Linked DNA regions of Homo sapiens: regions 1 and 3 are each linked to region 2. The links are contacts of gene promoters, found by promoter capture Hi-C in blood cells and fetal thymus (Javierre and others, 2016). All regions are on one chromosome and are shown on one strand. The core of a region is centred on a gene start or on the middle of the fragment in contact, and the rest is flanking DNA. Distances in the headings are between cores, read along the strand shown. Region 1 overlaps VSIG10L (V-set and immunoglobulin domain containing 10 like). Region 2 holds the start of SIGLEC14 (sialic acid binding Ig like lectin 14). Region 3 overlaps ETFB (electron transfer flavoprotein subunit beta).

The links. The method cuts DNA at HindIII sites, captures the fragments that hold promoters and counts their contacts. A CHiCAGO score of 5 or more calls a contact.
Region 1: a contact is called between a fragment that was not itself captured here and the fragment with the promoter of SIGLEC14 in region 2, in 12 of 17 cell types (naive B cells, megakaryocytes, activated CD4 T cells and 9 more). The highest score is 15.4, in naive B cells.
Region 3: a fragment that was not itself captured here is called in contact with the fragment with the promoter of SIGLEC14 in region 2 in 6 of 17 cell types (total B cells, megakaryocytes, naive B cells and 3 more); the score reaches 12.1 in total B cells.

Annotation. Positions count from the first base shown.
Region 1 is chr19:51,331,806-51,334,658 of GRCh38, forward strand. It overlaps VSIG10L (V-set and immunoglobulin domain containing 10 like), which reads right to left. Exons shown (of 10, transcript NM_001163922.3): 8 at 2,386-2,499; 9 at 1,986-2,140; 10 at 1-835. The coding sequence ends at 806. Among named protein-coding and RNA genes, the nearest start is that of VSIG10L-AS1, 6.8 kb to the right of the region's middle. The HindIII fragment of the contact is 3,891 bases long and covers 1-2,853 here.
Region 2 is chr19:51,645,375-51,648,074 of GRCh38, forward strand. SIGLEC14 (sialic acid binding Ig like lectin 14) reads right to left here and starts at 1,451. Exons shown (of 7, transcript NM_001098612.3): 1 at 1,349-1,451; 2 at 883-1,266; 3 at 408-686; 4 at 103-156. The coding sequence starts at 1,385. The HindIII fragment of the contact is 8,795 bases long and covers 1-2,700 here.
Region 3 is chr19:51,351,432-51,354,260 of GRCh38, forward strand. It overlaps ETFB (electron transfer flavoprotein subunit beta), which reads right to left. Exons shown (of 6, transcript NM_001985.3): 2 at 2,719-2,829; 3 at 1,701-1,859. Among named protein-coding and RNA genes, the nearest start is that of VSIG10L, 11 kb to the left of the region's middle. The HindIII fragment of the contact is 4,167 bases long and covers 1-2,829 here.

The DNA.
Region 1 (2,853 bases), core at 144-2,643, 310 kb before region 2:
TCAGGCCACACAAGAAATTACATATTTATGTATCAGGAACGGCAAATTCAAGGATTCTGGGACTTAACCCAAGACTAAGGGAGGGGTAAGGGAACGGTCGTCTAAGATGGTAACTGCTACTCTTAGACTTGAGAAATGAATGACATATGGGAAAAAGAAGTGTTATAAGCACAGCAAACTCTAGGGGCAAAATAAATTGTGGCTGAGAGACAGACTGTGATACTGGAGTCCGGGGGCAGAGAAAGAATTGGGAGGGGAGGTCAGGGAGGCCAACAGAGGCCAGACCACAAGGTTTTGAAGGTCACGACGATGAGTTTGGATAATATCTGAAGGGAAATGCACAGGCCGTAGAAGCGTTTAAAGAGAAGAGTGACATGATCTGATCTGTTTTAAGATGAAGATGCTGGGAGCTGGATGGGGTGTGGCCTACAGGTGGCAAAGTGAATGTAAGGGGACCTTTTCAGAGAACATGGCCAAGCTCCCTCTCTAGCTCAGAGCAACACAGCAAGCCCTGCCTGTCTGCTGCAGAGGCTTGGAGGTTGTGCAAACCACACAGTTAGATCAGCAAGAGTTTCCCAGCCAAGAAGTCACATCTCCTTACTTGCACAAATACAGGAAGACTCTTCTTCTGCAGCAAGAGAGGGAGACAGAAAGTCCCACTTTCAGGGTCCAACCCTCAGTCATAGCAGGCCCTGGCTGCTGCTGGAGTGAAATAGGAAGTTCTGGCCCAAAACGCCCTGTGCAGGGCAGACCACTGGCTCTGATCACACCTGTGTGGCTGCGCGAACAGTCTTTGAGCCTCCGCCTACAGAGACAACTGAACTGGGGTCTGTGCCTGGAAGAGAGAGGTGGGGTGAGGGGAGAACTCAGTAGGTACTCTGGATGTGACATAACTCACCCGCCTAACTTTTTCTAGCTCTTGCTTGAACTTTTTAGAGATTATCTGGGAACCCTCCATTTGGAGAGGGGAAAAAAAATGCCTGGCTATCCTTGGTGGAGCGAAGCCAGCCAACAACCCAACCCAGTTGTTATTTTTTATTTATTTATTTATTTATTTATTTTGAGACAGGGTCTCACTCTGTCATCCAGGCTAGAGTACAGTGGCACCGTTAGAGCTCACTGCAGCCTTGACCTCCCAGGCCCAAGCAATCCTCCCACCTCAGCCTCCCTAGTAGCTGGGACTACAGGTACGTGCCACCATGCCCGACTAATTTTAAAATTTTTTGTAGAGATGGGGTATCCCTATGTTGCCCAAGCTGGTATCGAACTCCTGAGCTCAAGTGATTCTCTCTCCTCAACCACCCGAAGTGCTGGGATTACAGGCATGAACTATCACACCCAGTCACAACAATCCTTCTTTTATGGGGAATGAGGTAACTGTACCCCACTTCATAGAGAAAAATGGGCCTTGCCCAATTTTTATGGGAAAGAAAAATGGAGGGGCTGGGCGTAGTGGCTCATGCCTGTAATCCCAGCACTTTGGGAGGCCAAGGTGGGCGGATCACTTGAGGTTAGGAGTTCGGGACCAGCCTGCCTAACATGGTGAAATCCCGTCTGTACTAAAAATACAAAAATCAGTCAGGCGTTGTGGTGCTTGCCTGTAATCCCAGCTACTCAAGTGGCTGAGGCAGGAAAATCGCTTGAACCCAGGAGGCGGAGGCTGCAGTGAGTCGAGATTGCACCACTGCAGTCCAACCTGGGCAACAAAGTGAGACTCTGTCTCCAAAAAAAAAAAAAAGAGAGAGAGAGATCCTATTTCCCTCCTTTGGAGAAGAAACTGGAATTCACTCTTATTTTAATATACATCAAAGTTGGGCGGGAAGCTCTGTCCAACTTTGATGCATTTTTAAAAAGGATAAAGTTATACAGACTGTAAACTAACAAGTAAAACTGGAGTTAGATAATTGAGACCCTCTCATCTCCCTGACTGTAATACAAGAAGTTCCGCCCCGATTCCAGGAGGAAATGAGGGCACCCACACTCACTTGGTAGGCCCTAGTTGAGCTGTGGTCCTCCAGAGGGACTTTGAGGTCCAGAGGCCATGAAATCTCCACTGGGGTCACACTATGCATCTTCTTTTCTGAGGGGGTGACCACGGGGACCAAGGTAGAAGGATGCTTCTTTTTCTCAGGAGTCTTTCCTGATTGAGAGGCAGAAGAGAAGCAGGAACACGTGATTGGCTGCCCCAACATGCCAACCCAGCCAATAGCAAGGGAAGCTGGTTGGAGAGGCGGAGCCTTATGCTGATTGGCTGATTTGGAGGTAGGAGGGCAGGATGGATGACCTATGACGGCACTGATTGCCTCAGCCAGGTCTTCCATAGGCCTCTTTCTAGGGTCCCTCCCCGTTGGTCATGGTTGCCCCTTCCCCAGTCCCCTTGCTCACCACGAAAGCGGCACAGGCAGCAGATGCAAAGGAGGAGAAGTACGGCTAGCAGCGCCAGGCCCAGCAGGGAGCCCAGGACGATGCCAGCGATGGCCCCATGGCTCAACGTGGGGCCTGGAAGAGACAAAGAGAAGAAAGAGAAGGGGAACAGGAACCAAGGTTGGACCCAAGTTTCCTAAGCCCCCTAACTTTGTGCTGGGACCCAGGAGTCCGGCCCCCACTGTCCCTCCCCTCCCAGAACCCAGGAATGTGGGACCCCAGCACTCTCAACTCATTTAACAGTTACTGAGTGACCGTGGTGTGCCTGGCTCTCAGACAGGTAGTGAGGATTCATTCGTGGGCCAAACAGGAAAGATATCTACCCTTATGGGGCTTAATTCTAGGAGAGAAGACATAAATAAATGAGCAATACATAAGATAATCACAGATTGTCCCGAGAAAGAAAAAGTGATGTGATAGAGATAATGG
Region 2 (2,700 bases), core at 201-2,700:
CCAGGGGCTGAGGGGTGAGGGAGGGTCTCCTCTCCCAATGCTGAACCCTGAGCTAATAGAAGGCTCCCATCACAGCCCCAGAGGGAAGAGGGTCTTTCCTACCTGTGCCTGTGCCATTTCTGAAGAAGATGCTGATGGCGAGGTTCTGTGGAGCATCTGGGATAGAAAGATACAGCACCAGCTTCAGAGGTGACAAGAGGGATGGGCGTGGTCCCGGGAGGGACCCAAGGAGGGGCCACAGAAACCCACCAGGTGGGGACCGCTGTCCTTCCTGCCCACACACGAGTTTTCCCTGGTTATCATTCTCTTTCTCTCTCTCTCTTCTACACACACACACACACACACACACACACCCCCCTCACTCCCACTGCCCTTGGGGACTCAGCTGTGTCCCCAGCACCACTCACAGGAGACATTGAGCTGGACAGTTCTCTCCGTGGTCACCTGAGCTCCTTGGCGTTTCACCTGACAGGTGAGGTTGGTGCCATGGTCCTCGGGCCTGGGGGTGAGGGTGAGCTCCGAGGAGCGGGTGGTCTCGGGGTCCAGGGGGCTGAGGGCATTCCCCGTCCAGGAGAATGTGAGAGGTGGTCCCGCTTCACAGGATCCTGGAAGGCTGCAGCTCAGCCTTGTGGGGCGGCCGGACTCCAGAGGCTCCAGAAAGTGGATGTCGGGTTTCTCTATCAGGGCTGAGGAGGAGACAGGGAGATACCTGGGCCCCAGGGGCTTGAGGACGTAAGGTGTGACCCCGAGAGTGGCCAGGCCTCAGGCCCCGACCTGCCCCAAGTCCTACACCTCCTCCAGCCGCCCCTGCCCAACTCCTGTCCCTGTTCTCATACGGGGGTCTCCACGTCCCAGGGTCCTCTCCTAGGGTTCCTGCCATACCTGTCACCTCCAAGTTCAGCTTATTCTGTTGGTAGCTATATTTTACATCCCTTCCTCTCTCCACGCGGAAGAAATAGCTTCCCGTGTCCTCCATTCTGGCATCTCCGATGCTCAGGGAGCAGTTCTTCTTCTGGACATCCCCAAGGAGGCGGAATCGGCCCTGGGTCTCTGGCTTCACTCTTCTGTCTGGGTTGTTTGTGGCCACAACCTCAGCGTAGTATGGGATCTCCCCGTCCCGGAACCAGTAGACGTAGAGTGGGGGAGAGGAATACCAGGATCTCCAGGGGTAAGAGAAGGAGCAGGGCACAAGGACGCACAGGCCCTCCTGCACCGTCACCGACTTCTGCACTTGCAGCTCGTACACTGGCTTCTCCTGCAGGGACCCTGGGGGGACACAGAAGCTCAGCTGCAGCTCCAGCCCCCCTTCTCACCCCTGTGCCTGTCCCTCCTCCCTCAGCTCACTCACCCCCCCACAGCAGGGGCAGCAGCAGCAGGGGCAGCATGTCTCCATCCGCCAGGGCCCCAGCCCAGTCCCAGGTCCGGCTGTCAGGGAAGGAAATGCTCCAAATGTCCAAACGTGGGGTGGGGCTGAGAAAGCCCCGACAGGAAGCCGGAGGGTGAGTGAGAGCTGTGGACGCGCACAGAAGGGGAACTTGGGCATCACGTGCTGTTGGGGTGAGGCTGGGGCTGGGAAGCCATTCTGCTCCCACCCCCACTGGACGCCGATGGTGAAGATACTGAGGCCCCCAGAGGGGCTTGTCCAGACTTGTAAGTCTAGACTCCTGAGGTCACCAGGTCCCATAGCTGCAGCACTTTCCTTATGCACCTTTGTCTACATAGGAAGGAGAACACCACTTGGCCAGCTCCCTGGGAGTCAGGGCCTCGGGACCCTCAGCGAGATGGGAGAATAAATCCTTTATGACATGATAGGAGCTGTGGTGAGGGAAGCACACGCTGGGGGTTTCAGGTGGGGAAGACTTTCCTCTTTCCAGAGGGAAGGCAAGTTGTCAGGGACAAACACATCAGGTGGACATGACCGGGTCCTTAGCAGTCAAGAGAGATGTGGTCCCCACCACCAGTTGGATTTGGGAACCTCATCTCATCCTTGTCCTTGTCCCAGGCAGCGTCAGACCCCATCCCTGATGTTGACAGCCAGATGAGGCTTGAGAGCCGGGCATTTGAAATGTGAACGTTGAGGATATGGAATACCAAGTGTGAACCCAGACCCCTCACCTACCGGCTGTTGAACTTTACAAAAGTTACCTACCCTCTCTGTGCCTCAGTTTGCTCAGCTGAAAAATGCAGACAATAATAGAATTGCTGTGTGGGGATTCAGTGAGGTCTCATGTGTAAAGTGCTTAGGACAGTGTCTGGCCCCGAGAATTCACTCATTCAACTGATGCTTCATGGGCGCCTATGGTGCACCAGGCCCCCTGTTTTAGGAGCTGGAGATACAGCAAAGGATAAACTCTTAGGATGAGAAGGTAAGTCAAAAATCCTAGTGGGGGCTCCTCTGGGCACACTGCTTATGCATACCCCTGCTCCACGAAGAACAGTAAAAAAAGAAGGCCGGGCGCAGTGGCTCACGCCTGTAATCCCAGCACTTTGGGAGACCGAGGCGGGTGGATCACGAGGTCAGGAGATCAAGACCGTCCTGGCTAACATGGTGAAACCCCGTCTCTACTAAAAATACAAAAAATTAGCCGGGCGTGGTGGCGGGCGCCTGTAGTCCCAGCTACTGGGGGGGCTGAGGCAGGAGGACGGCGTAACCCGGGAGGTGGAGCTTGCAGTGAGCCGAGATCGCACCACTGCACTCCA
Region 3 (2,829 bases), core at 330-2,829, 290 kb before region 2:
TGAGTTGTGAATCTGCTTCCTAGAACAAACAGCATCCTGACCAGTTCATCCGGCATTTCCCCAGCTGGAGGCCCTGGCCCCAGGAACTGTCCCTGGCCCAGGACAGGTAGGACATCGGAGTCTGAGAACGACCAGCAAATGCAGGGGGCTGCAAAGGCCATGCTTCCAGCACCTCGGCCTCTGCAGCCCCACCCAGGCCCTGCCTTTTTGGCCTGTTCTCCGGGTAGGCCCTTCGGCCACAGTTGACTGATCTGTACTCTGATGCCCCTGCTGTTGATAATCTCTCTCTGTTTTCTTCTGACTTTCTCAGGGCTGGGCAGGACACCCAGTGACCTACCTGGACCCATCAGCCTCCTCTTTGTCCCAGAACTGACCTGGCCCTGGGATCCCCATCTCTCTCCGGGGGCCCCAGCTCTACCTGAGCCTGCTGTGCTCTGCTGTCTCCGTGCTCTGCTTGACATACCTTGCAGTCTTTGGCCTTCCTTCTCAGCCTCATCCCTAATTCCCTGCCTCTTCTCACTCCCATCTGCCTGTGGCTCTTCTGACGTCCCTCTTCTGCCCCTTCCCTGGTTGAGGCCATGAGGTTTGCCCTCAAATGAGATGAGCTACCCCTGAGCAGAGGTGGTGCCCGAGGGTCTCCTGGGGGAACAGATGAGCTCCATGTACCCCTATCTCAGTGGGGAGCACCAGTGTGGCAGGGAAGGTTCTGGTCGGGTCCTCACCCAGCCCTAACCTCCTTCCCTAACTCCTGGCCTCCAATTTCCCATTCCAGTCCATTCTCAAAGCCCAGGGGGGCTCTTTCTGCACCTAGTGCTGATCCCACCCCTCTTCTGCTCATAGAACTCCCATAGCTCCCCAGTGCCCTCCAAAATTCTCAAGTCTTTGTTTCAAGCCCAGGCCTGTCTCCTGAACCTGCATCGATGTCTCCTGGGCTCTTCACACTCCCCTTGTAGGATCCTCCTCTAACCTCCTGTTCTTCCTGGGTTTCCTACCTGTGTTACCAAGGCAGACCCAGGCACTGTCCTTGCCTCCTCCCTGCCCTCCCTCCCCATGCTAAGCCCAGTCTCTCCTGCCACATCATGTCTCTGCTCTGTCCTGTCACCTTTGGCTGAGGCCTCATTCTCCCCCATGTGACCATCACCTCGGCCTCCCAGCCTCTAAACTCACCCAAAAGGATCTTTCTTCTTTTTTTCTTTTTGAGACAGAGTCTCGCTCTGCTCCCAGGCAGGAGTGCAGTGGTGCCTGGAGTGCAGTGGTGCGATCTTGTATCACTGCAACCTCCGCCTCCCAGGTTCCAGTGATTCTCATGCCTCAGCCTCCCAAGTAGCTGGGATTACAGGCAGGTGATACCACACCCGGCTAATTTTTATATTTTTAGAAGAGATGGGGTTTCACCATGTTGGCCACGCTAATCTCAAACTCTCGACCTCAAGTGATCCACTGGCCTCGGCCTCCCAAAGTGCTGAGATTACAGGCGTAAACCACCGTGCCTGGCCCAAGAGGATCTTTCTAACACCCAGAGGGACTCTGTCCTCCCTGCTCAAACTCTCTGTCAGAAGGGTCAGCAAAGTCCCAAGCTGCTCAGCCTGGAGTGGTGAATGCCCTGGGCCTGGCCAGCTGCTGTCTCACCCCGTATCTCCACCACCCTCCTCCCGAGCAGGGATGAGCAAGGGGGCACAGGGAGGGCTGACCACAGCTACCTGTTTGCCCAGCAGCACCAGGTCCACCTTCTCCTTCTCTGCCAGCTTGGCCAGGACCCGAGCCACCTGCAGGGGACCCAAGCGTTCTGCTTCTGCTGGGGGCACCTCCACGTGGATACCTCGGTCTGCACCCATGGCCAGGGCGGTACGAATCGTCTCCTGCCAAGGACAGAGGGGCTTGACTTGGCTGCTATCCTCAGGGGGACCTAGGAGTCTGGCTCGCAGCCCCTCCTTCCTCAGACCCAGGAGTCCAGGGCCCCATCCCCTCCTTCCTCAGACCCAGGAGTCCAGGCCCCCATCCCCTCCTTCCTCAGACCCAGGAGTCCGGGCCCCCATCCCCTCCTTCCTCAGACCCAGGAGTCCGGGCCCCCATCCCCTCCTTCCTCAGACCCAGGAGTCCGGGCCCCCATCCCCTCCTTCCTCAGACCCAGGAGTCCGGGCCCCCATCCCCTCCTTCCTCAGACCCAGGAGTCCGGGCCCCCATCCCCTCCTTCCTCAGACCCAGGAGTCCGGGCCCCCATCCCCTCCTTCTTCAGACCCAGGAGTCCAGGCCCCCATCCCCTCCTTCCTCAGACCCAGGAATCCAGGCTATCAGCCCATCCTCCCTCAGACCCAGGGGTCCAGACTTCCAGCCTCCTCCTCCCTCAGACCCAGGAGTCCAGGTCCCAGCCCCTCCTTCCTCAGACCCAGGAGTCCAGGGCCCCATCCCCTCCTTCCTCAGACCCAGGAATCCAGGCCCCCATCCCCTTCTTCCTCAGACCCAGGAGTCCAGGGCCCCATCCCCTCCTTCCTCAGACCCAAGAGTCCAGGCCCCCAGCCCCTCCTTCCTCAGACCCAGGAGTCCAGGCCCCCATCCCCTTCTTCCTCAGACCCAGGAATCCAGGCTATCAGCCCATCCTCCCTCAGACCCAGGGGTCCAGACTTCCAGCCTCCTCCTCCCTCAGACCCAGGAGTCCAGGTCCCAGCCCCTCCTCCGTCAGACCCAGGAGTCCAGCCCCCTCCCCAAGACCTTCATCACCTGGCACTGTGCAGGCCCACAGCTGACGGCGATGACCTCCTTCACCAGCTTCTTCTCCTTGAGCCGCACAGCCTCCTCCACCGCGATCTCACAGAAGGGGTTCATGGAGTG